Regions from separate parts of the Homo sapiens genome. Here region 1 is linked to region 2. Evidence: promoter capture Hi-C in 16 types of primary human blood cells and fetal thymus (Javierre and others, 2016). All regions are on one chromosome and are shown on one strand. The core of a region is centred on a gene start or on the middle of the fragment in contact, and the rest is flanking DNA. Distances in the headings are between cores, read along the strand shown.

The links. The method cuts DNA at HindIII sites, captures the fragments that hold promoters and counts their contacts. A CHiCAGO score of 5 or more calls a contact.
Region 1: a fragment that was not itself captured here is called in contact with the fragment with the promoter of STK26 in region 2 in 1 of 17 cell types (total CD8 T cells); the score reaches 5.5 in total CD8 T cells.

The regions. Positions count from the first base shown.
Region 1 is chrX:123,964,067-123,969,529 of GRCh38, reverse strand. All of the region lies in intron 1 of STAG2 (STAG2 cohesin complex component), which reads right to left. Among named protein-coding and RNA genes, the nearest start is that of STAG2, 5.1 kb to the right of the region's middle. The HindIII fragment of the contact is 7,160 bases long and covers 1-5,463 here.
Region 2 is chrX:132,020,506-132,025,878 of GRCh38, reverse strand. STK26 (serine/threonine kinase 26) reads right to left here and starts at 2,577. Exons shown (of 12, transcript NM_016542.4): 1 at 2,472-2,577; 2 at 2,220-2,371. The coding sequence starts at 2,261. RefSeq lists enhancers at 1,896-1,965, 1,935-2,482, 2,336-2,495, 2,946-2,995, 2,483-3,029 and a silencer at 2,536-2,785. The HindIII fragment of the contact is 2,994 bases long and covers 1,542-4,535 here.

The sequences.
Region 1 (5,463 bases), core at 1,727-4,226, 8.1 Mb after region 2:
AACTAAAATAGGAAGTATAAGCAAACAGGAGATATTAACAGAATAAAAAAGAATTTTTAAGGTACAATTAAATAACAAAAAATACCCCTAAAGAACCAGAGCGCTGAATTATTAAAGATTAGCCTAAACTTTTTACTTCGAATCTAACCACTCAGTAAAACAAGCTGAAGGACTGGGGAACAATTCTCAGACACATGTAATCTCCATTTTAAATAGAGCATAAATGACCTAAAAGAAAAAATATCTATGAAACCATTTCATGTATCACATGATTCCCCCCCCAAAAAATTCAAGAATACAATTCATTATCCCACAAACTTTAATAAGCATATGCAAACAAAACCAATGCTCAGATTTATTTCAACTACTTCTATTACTATTAAAAGACAATATAGACCTCAGGCAGCAACTTATCTGACTCTGGGTAAAAATCTATATTTACCTTGCACTATACATGAAAAAGAATCTTGATTTTGTAAAATTAAAATAAGAATGCATGCTCTCTGATGACAGATAGCCCAAGACCTAAACCAGATAAGGGAAACAACTGAGTTTAACAAAAAAGCACAAAGGTTTTGAGGCCAGGCTAATCTGAGTGTGAATCCATGTGACTTGAGACAAGGCATTTACTCTCTGAGAGCGTCAATTTCCCCACGTGTAAAATGATGAGGACAACCTATCCTGCAAAGTGGTTGAGAAGATTAAACAGAAGATTAAAGCATTACTGGCATTCAGTAGGAACTTAAATAGCAGTTAAATTAAGTTTCTTAGAATGCTTCAGGTTTCAAAAGTTATTCTTGCAAAAATGTAAATAGGACTTGTTTTTCACCCCCCTTGAACGATGTACAACAGAATTTAAACAACTTTTTGAGATAGGGTCTTACTCTTTTGCCCAGGCTGAAGTGCAAAGGCATGATCATGGCTCACTGCAGGCTCAACCTGCTGGGGCTCAAGTGATCCTCCCACCTCAGCCTCCCCAGTAACTGGGGCCACAGGCTGCACAACCATACCCAGCTAATTGTTAAATTTTTTTGTAGAGATGGGGTCTCCCTACGTTGCCCAGGATGGTCTCAAACTCCTGGGCTCAACAGATCTTCCCACCTTGGCCTACCAAAGTGCTGGGATTCAGAGGGTGAGTCACCACGCCCAGCCAACTTATTTCTTACAAAGAAATTTTACCTTTGAATGGTCCCTTAAGTTAGGCAGAGCTTACTGAAATCTCCCTAGTTTGTCTCATCAAGCCTAGTAATGTATTTCCCAATTAAAATACAGTCATGTGCCATATAATGACATTTTAGTCCACAACAGACTGCATATAAGACGGTGGTCCCAGCTGGGTGTAGTGGCTCATGCCTGTAATCCCAGCACTTGGGGAGGCTGAGGCAGGCGGATCACGAGGTCAGGCGTTTGAGACCAGCCTGACCAATATGGTGAAAGCCCGTCTCTACCAAAAATACAAAGATTAGCCGGGTATGGTGGCATGCATCTGTAATCCCAGCTACTTGAGAGGCTAAGGCAGGAGAATCGCTTGAACTCAGGAGGCAGAGGTTGCAGTGAGCCAAGATCTCGCCACTGCACCCCAGCCTGAGCGACAGAGGGAGACTCCATCTAAAAAAAAAAAAAAGACAGTGGTCCCATAAGATTATAAGGGAGCTGCCCTATAGAGGTGTACTATTTTTTCTTTTATACCGTATTTTTATTGTATCTTTTTTGTTTTCAAACACAAATACTTACCACTGTATTATAACTGCCTACGATATTCAGTACAGCAACATGCTGTACAGGATTGTAGCCTAGGAGCAACAGGTCATACCATATGGCATAGATGTATAGTAGGCTATTCCATCTAGGTGTGTGTAGGTACACTGTATGATGCTCACACAACAAAATCACCTAAAGATGCATTTCTCAGAAGGTATGCCCGCCGTTAAGCAATGCATGACTGTAATAAAAAAGAATAGGCCAGCTGGGCGCAGTGGCTCACGCCTGTAATCCCAGAACTTTGGAAGGCCGAGGCAGGCAGATCACCTGAGGTCGGGAGTTCGAGACCAGCCTGACCAACATGGAAAAAACCCCGTCTCTACTAAAAGTACAAAATTAGCCCGGTGTGGTGGCACATGCCTGTAATCCCAGCTACTCGGGAGGCCGAGGCAGGAGAATCGCTTGAACCCAGTAGGTGGAGGTTGCAGTGAGCCAAGATCGCACCATTGCACTCTAGCCTGGGCAACAAGAGCAAAACTCCGTCTCAAAAAAAAAAAAAAAAAAAAAAAAAATACACCATTGACATTATTCATCCTCTCTTTCTTCGGCAGAAGGAATGGAAAACAATTTCAATAATCTCTTCTTGGCCAGGCACGGTGGCTCCGCCTGTAATCCCAGCACTTTGGGAGGCTGTGGTGGGTGGATCACCTGAGGTCAGGAGTTTGAGACCACCCTGACCAACATGGTGAAACTCTGTCTCTACTAAAAACACAAAAAATTAGCTGGGCGTGGTAGCGGACACCTGTAATCCCAGCTACTGGGAGGTTGAGGCAGGAGAATCACTTGAACCCGGGAGGCAAAGGTTGCAGGGAGCCCAAGATCATGCCACTGCACTCCAGCCTGGGCAACAAGAGCAAAACTCCGTCTCAAAAAATAAATAAATCTCTTCTTGACTTACTACAATAACCATATGTAAAGACTTCTTGGTGTCTACTGGTGAGTATCAAAGATCTATAGCAAGCACACATTAAAAACACAATTCAGGTAGCAGATTACCACAGCTGCTGAAGATGCATAGATTTTTAAAAGGCACATCAACAAAAATTAGACTCCACTAAGCAACACCACTTACACTGAAGAAATATAAAATTTGGGTAAATTAAACGTAAAGCAGTCAACTCAAGAGACTGAAAAATCAAACTGATAATTTTGCTTTATCATATATCTTTGCCAATCAGAACACGCAATAACCATCATTTATGATACCCAGAAACATAAAGAATTATTACACAGGGACAGTACTGAAACACGAACTAAAGTCCTGAACATGTAGCCAATGCAGAAAAATGTTAAGAACTTTTTTTTTTTTTAAACGGAGTCTCGCTGTCGCCCAGGCTACAGTGCAGTGGCGCGATCTCAGCTCACTGCAACCTCTGCCTCCCAGGTTCAAGCGATTCTCCTGCCTCAGCCTCCCAAGCAGCTGGGACTACAGACGCGCACCACCACGTCCAGCTAATTTTAGTATTTTTAGTAGAGATGGGGGTTTCACCATGTTGGCCAGGCTGGTCTTGAACTCCTGACCTCATGATCCGCCTGCCTCAGCCTTCCAAAGTGCTAGGATTACAGGCGTGAGCCATGGTGCCCAGCCAAAAACTTTTAAAATAGCCTATGTCTTTAAAGTTCCTTCCTTACTCTCCAACAATCACACTTCAGTATATACTGATGCCCATACCTGAAACTATCCCTCTCCCTCGCTATTCTCCCCAACTCCCAAAACGGTACTCCATTATATAGTAAACTGTACATTTTAGTTTATTTTTAATTTTTTTTTGAGACAGGGTCTTGCTCTGTTGCCCAGGCTGGGTGCAGTGGCGCAATCGTGGCTTACTGCAGCCTCTATGTACCGGGCTCAGGTGATCCTCCTGCCTCAGCCTCCCAAATAGCTGGGACCACAGGTGTGCACCACCACACCTAATTTTTAAATTATCTATAAACATGGGGTCTCCCTATGTTGCCCAGGCTGGTCTTGAACTCCTTGGGCTCAAGTGATCCCCCCACTTCAGCCTCTCAGCCTCCCAAAGTGTTGGTATTACAGGTGTGAGCCACTGTGCCCCGCCGATTTTGGTTTAAGTTCAAAAGTCAACTTGCAGCATCAAAAACTGAAGTCTGCCATCTATTATAAAGAACCCGAAGCAGAAAGATTATGCTATTCTCTGTTTACTACCTTCCCACATATGACTGTGGGTGGTATCAGTTAAACATGCACAATATTAAGCATTACTAAACTGCATATTTTCACATCTAACCCTAAATTCCCAAAGGAATAGATCTGAGCCTTAGCCTGTCCCCCAAGCCCATCCCATTCACTTTAATTCATAAGTCCTCAGGTGACCGCAGAAGTCAATACAGTTGAAAAAGAAATGTAGAATTTGATTTCATGAAAATCTTATTTGAGCATTTGGGCTTTAAAAAATCCTAACTAAATATACTTGAAAGTTACCAAACTCATCATGTGTTAGTGTAGTAGTTTAGCTATTGCCTCACCACAATAAAATAAATCTGATGCCACAATCCTTACCATCTACTAAGAATATTTGTATATGAATAAAAATTTGAAATATGTCACCTATTTTCCTTTAACATCCTTCTAAAGCTAAAATCCTGAATATGAAATACACAAACAGACTAATGGTAACAGTTACAAAATGTCTGTTCCCAGATTGGGGTGAAATTTTGCTATAAATTAAATATCCATTGTTTTGGATTCCTTTCGGAACTGTGACATGTATTTTTAAAATGTATCTCCTGGGGGAAAAAAATAAACCTGACACTGAACAGTATAGAACTGCCAAAAAAAAAAAAAAAAAAGGCACTTACCTTAATAGAATTTAGGAGCAGTTCACAAATGCACTAATTAAGGGAGACCAAGGATTGTCATTGCAACACATTTTTACTGTTTACGGGTAATGGTCAGAATGTTAACAGACAATATTGAAATATTTTACATATCAACTTCTAACTAGTTATAGCACCAGATCCTTGGGGCATGAGGTGATTTAAACCATTTTAAATGTAAACACTCATTTTCTTATCAGTTAAAAAAAAAAAAACCCACTCCACCCTCTCTGCCAGTCTCTGATACACCTTAGAATACTATAGTTACTTCACAGTGGGAAGGAATAGCTAATAAGTACATTTCTTTTCCAACCCACTTCTCTACCTAGTCATTAAACACCAAATTCTGAAACTGAATTCAGCTACCTAGATCTTTCTACCAGGAATGCTCCCTATGGTACCTCAATCCCTTCCACTGTCACTTACTGCAACTGCCAAAGCCCCTCCTATTAATAGTAAATCCCTTTCATACTGACTCACTGTAACTCCAACTTGATGAAATAGACACTAAGCAGAATTTACAAAAATTGCAAATGGAATTTTCCTGTTTTCAAAGAATTAAAAAGGAAACTAAAAGTAGAGCACATTCAGGCTAAGTTATAAACATTTAAAGTTCAACCAATTTATAAGTATTTATGTTGCCTGTTTTATACTAGTTCCCGTTTAAACGTTTTTTTTTTTTTGAAAGTTTTGCCAAGCATTGTGTAATCACTTACACAAGGCTAAATTTCCTATGCAAGTAATTTTGACATGTAAATATAAACTTAAGTCATTACCCCCAAGACTGTAAGACAATCTGGAAATTCTACTGCAAAAAAAGTTTATCTTAAACTATGGAAATGTTTAACAGCACGCACAAAAGTAGAG
Region 2 (5,373 bases), core at 1,328-3,827:
TCTCATCTGCAATATTTTGCTACATAACAATAATAAAAATAGTCTAGCTTCAAGAGTCACACTGCATGCTATCAAATTTATTATTAAGGTATTGTACATTTTCAACTATGGAAAAAACTGTGTGCTGCACAAAGTGCTTAAGAACTACATTAGAAATAAAATGGAAATAAGAAGTTAAGAATTTACCATTTCATTAAGATGAAGAGAATGACCAAAAAAAAAAAAAAAAAAGATTCCTCTCTTCTTTGCTAACGTTGAGATGTTTGCCCTACTCAAATTAGGTGGGACAAAGTAATCACAACTCAGAGGGCACAGAGTGAAAGGCAGAATTTGTAATTTAAAGTATATGATTCACATTCGAATCCACATTAATTAAGATTTAAAAATTCAAGAGATAGGCAACTCAGATAATTAAAAGCAGGGAGCAATCAGAAATACTGAACAGCAAGCAGTTCCTAAACCATATAAATTCAATAAGTTCAAGACAAATAAAATAAAAATCAGAAACCATTTTCCCCTCAGCACACAGAGTTCCCCAGAATCACAAACTTGATGAACTGGAGGCACTCACTCTGCTGACGCACACACGCAGGCTCGCGCACACAATGGAGCGAGAAGCATGGAGACCCTCAGAGACAAACTTCACATGTGCATCGTTTTACTCTCCACAGAATGGAAAGAAGAGCACGGTGAGAAAATGTCACTTTTTCCCAGATCAAACAGCAAAACTGTACTTAGTATTGTGAACTATGAATTCCCTTGATACAATCAAAGGCAGAACTGAATGAATGGGGTGTGGGGCAGGGTGCGTGGGGAAAAGAAGGAGGGAAGGAGAGGGGAGGCCGCCTGAGAGGAAGAAAGTTTAAGGCATTTTGCAAGGCTTGAGTGGATTAATCTTTTTTTTTAAGCCCTACTATTTCCTATTTCCCTTTCTCTCTCTCTCTTTATTTAATATACACTAACTTCCTGAGACTCAACCCAGACTTGCCCTAAATGCAGCTGAAATGTCTGGTGTTTAGGACACACCAAGAGTTCTAGGTGCACAAATAAATCCCATTTTGGGAAAGAATTTAAAAATCACTTTTGTGGACATTCATAAAATGAGAACACTGAAAAAAAAAAAAAAACTCCATGTATCAATAAGTAAATTGAGGCCCCAGTCTACAGCTCTTTGATTTCTACTAGAAATATAAGCTATTTACTATAAACATTTTATTTTTGAACTTCAAAAAAGTTTGTTTTCACATTTTAGATCATGAAAGACTGAGGCTTCAGTGGTTTTAGCCCCTAAATGGGTTGTTTAGGCCATCTAGCAAAGGAAAAAAAAATAGAACATGAATGCTTTAAAAAGTTAGTAAATTTGGATAACACTTAGCAGATAGCCTAAAATGCACCGATTTAAAAACATAACAGCATAAAAAGTTTTCTGACATAGCTTATCTTTAATAAAATGAAAATATAATGGGAGGGGGTTGGGCTGGGTAGACTTCGAGTAACAAGTTGGGTCCCATGCAGTAGTCCCTTGTCCAAGACAAAAAGCTTCCTTTAACCACATGTAACAGTCATCTTGTGGGAAAGGCACGGAGGGGGCTGAGAAGTCATCACCTCAGTGACTCTGAACAGAACCAGCATTTCTCACGCCACACTATGGGCTGGGCTAGGTCGGGGAGCAAGCTACAACTTTGCCCTTAAGCAGCAGTACCGAAAGGGAGAAAGAGGTCACCTCTCTCTTAGCCCTACGCACACAGGAAGAGCCCAATTCAAGCCGCCGCCGCCGCCACCCCTGGTGTTGCCCCGCCCCAACTTGAGTGTGTGTTTGGGGTGGGGGGTGTAGGGCACTCACTACTCGCGTTATACCCCACAAATTCCAAGGCACTTCCATCTCTCCCAGGTTAAGTTCCGCCCCCCCATCCCCAACCGTGCCAAGCTCAGCAGGCGCAGGTGTCTGTGGCTCTGGCCTATTTTTATACCCCCAACCGCCCTCAATCTCCACCTAGTTGCGCGCTCCAGTCCCGCCTCGCCTTCCCAGCGAAGAGCACTACCTAGCCTACACACCAGGAAACACCTCCAGCCCTACTCCCAGGTCACCTGGCCATAGTGACCGGCCCTGCCCTCAGGGGAGCCCTGGGGCCGTCCCTTGTCGCCGGTGCCCAGCACCGAGGGCGCACCGGGCTCCCAAGCAGTCACGTGGGCGGCGGGGGCGGCCTGCGCTTCCTCACCTGCATCCCAGGCACTTGGACAGCCACCGGCGAGTGGGCCATGGAGGCGAATGCTGCCTCGCTCCGCTTCTGCGGCGGTGGCGCCTTGGGTTCGGACTGGCTCCTCCCTCCGGGGGTAGTTCGGCGGCCCTCCCAGGCTTTTCGATCGGGGCCTGGGAGGACACACAAAAGTGGGGTTACTGGGCTGGCGGCGCGTAGCCCGGGGCTAGGAGGTGGGCTGTTAGCGGCGCAGCTCCCTGGGACTCAGTCTACCTTTCTGGCGCCCGCCCGCCGCTGAAGCAGCCGCCTCCGCTGCTGCTCCTCTTCCTGAACGCCGAGCGCTGTGAGTGGTGGTGGCTGGGACCTGGGCTCGAGTGATGCCGCTCCTCTGCGCCTCGCCGCTTTAGGAAGAGGAGGTGGAGGCGCCCCAGCCACCCGCCTGCTCGCCTGGCCTGGGAGGCGGTTGGGGGCGGTTCCGCCGTTGGCCCTGCCCCCGCCCCGCAGCCGGGCGGTGTCGCGGGAGCCAAGGCTCCAGGCAGCGAAGAGGTTTGGCTGGGGTTGCTGGAGTCTGAGAAGCTGGAGACTCTCCCGGCACGCGGAGAGGAGAACCCGGGGACCCGGAGACCTGGGACATGGCTGGGCCTGGGAAGAGAATGGAAGAGTTTGGGAAACCCTGAGGGTATGAGGGCGCCCCAGATGCGGCCACGTTGCAGGGAGGCGTGCGAGGCTGGGGCACACGCAGCCTCGGAGACGACTTGAGCTGAAACTTGGGGAGTGTTGGAAGTCTTTCTTGGCTCCCCGGCCTGGCCAAGGGTAGGATTACAGATAGCCGCGGAGTCGGTGGACCCCCGCTTTTTCCCGCCATCTGGTCTCCTCAGCTGGGGGTCGCGCCTCTGGGCAGATCTGTGGCCACACTCTTGCTTTCCGAGTTCCCTGACCCCAAACATGCTTCAGGTGACTTCAACTTAAGGTTCCCCCTACCTCCTGGGCTATCCCTTGCAGAACGGCCAAACTAGGGCTTCTCTCTACCACAAGTTCTGCACGTGTAAGGCAGAGGGAAATTGGAAAACAGATGGTACATCGGCAGAAAAATTAATGAGGATAGTAGAGGCTTGGGAAATGAGATTGGATCGTTAGCAGTACAGGTTATTGAAATCAGCATACACTGCAGTGGTTTTGGTAACTCCCTGCCTCCGCCCCATTTTAAGTTCTACTCCAGGAGAGGGAGACAGGCTCTTTTGAGAGTACTCTAACAGTAGCGACAGTAACACTGGTAATAATAGTAACAGGAATTTCATTATGAAGGCACCTTTGGGAACACGTAAGGGGTTAATTACTTTTTAAAAAAGTAATAGTCGAGTGCCAGTTTAAAATGAAGATGAAGTTCCTTACCTTGAAATTTGTTATGGGTCTCTACGCACCACACGGTGGGGGGCCTCTAGTGGTAAAAGATAGTTTCTCTTCTTCCTTTTAAATCTTTTTCAGAGAATAGTATATAATTCTTATCAATATCGTTATTATTAATGGATATTATTTTCATTGTGCCAGGGACTGCTAAGTGCTTTCTATGTGTTATTAATACCTTACTGAACCTGTACAAGGGCCTTCTGGAGTCTTATTGATTTCCCCTCATTTTACAGATGAAGAAAAAGGCTCAACCAGGTTAAATAATTTGACCGAAATGTCACGCAATTAAGAAGTGGTACAGCTGGGAATTCAGACGCAGGTCCCTCTGACTGGTGATAAACTTACTACTTTCTCTATGGTTTCTGTTTGTGTTTAATGATGATAAAAGGTACAATTGCATTTTCCTTACTCCTAGTTCCCCAAGTCCAGCCCTTCACTATTTCTAACCTAATGTTAGGCTCCAATCTAGTCTCGATTTCCCACCAACCCAGCTCACAACATTGCCAGCCTGACCGGAAACCTGCAGTGCCACCTAAACTTTTAATGTCCATAGAAATCCGAGGGTTCTTTTGCTCCCTCAAAAGCGCAGATTTTTATCTCCCATGTCTGGACTGGGCCCAAGATTCTGCAATGCTAACAAGCTCTCACATGGTGATGATGTTTAGATCACACTTTTAAGTCGCAAGGGTCTGAATCAAGCTCCATCATTTAAGACCTGTCTCAAATCTCACCTCCATTGACCCTTCCTAGTTGCTCCAAGCCCTCCTTCAAACTCCTCCAATGTGAGCAGCGCTCACACTGTAGTTCTTTCTTCTTATTTCATATATTTCATTTGTTTTGTGTGCCCATATTAGGTCCTTGAGGGCAGAGATCCAGCCTCTCTTACATGAGAATGATTCAGGTAGGATGGCAGGAGTCTGAGGGCAAGCTTTTTATACATTTTGTCCATTGCTGTATCCCCAGAGACTAGGTTCATGGCATGTAGTAGGCCCTCAATAAATAATTGTTGAATGAATGAATGAACTTCTTTTGAATTCTCCACTGAGGTTACTAGGTGCATAATGTATACACTATATATTTTATTGATGTCAGGTTAAACCCCTAGGCATTGCCCTTACTGAACATTTAAATTGTTCAGTTTATTGTGTGTTACATCTTTCATTATTTAGTCTCCAAAATTCTTTCCTGCTAGTTTAATTTCACAACTACTTATGAGCCAGTTGTATAATTTTGATAGATAAGTAAATTAAGCATATCAGAGAAATGACTTTCTCTGACATCATTCTGGGCCAGAGTTATGTAACTATGTGGAAGAATAAAAGCTTAATGCTGAGACCTGGAATATTGAGACATTTCCTGAAAGACATTGCATTTGAGATCTTAGTGAGCTTTTTAGCCTTTATTTAGGTTTACTGCTATTAAATAAAGCATCAGTTGTTGTTATAATTGATAGAGATCACTTGAGTTTTTACATGGGATTGCTTGTGGGCTTTTAAATGATTTTTCCTGTGTGTGTGTGTGTGTGTGTCTGTGTCTGTGTGTGTGTGTGTATCTATAAATTAAATCTTGTGAAGGTGTCAACATTTGAAAACAATTCAAATTTTATGAGCATTAGAAACTTTTTTTCCACTTTGAACTGGATTATTTCTCAAATTCTTAAATAAAATGACAAGAAATTCAAGTACGCTTTTGTTACACACACACACAAAGGAAACTTAAATATTTTACTTCAAATTGTCAGCCCAGGCCAGGCGTGGTGCCTCACCCC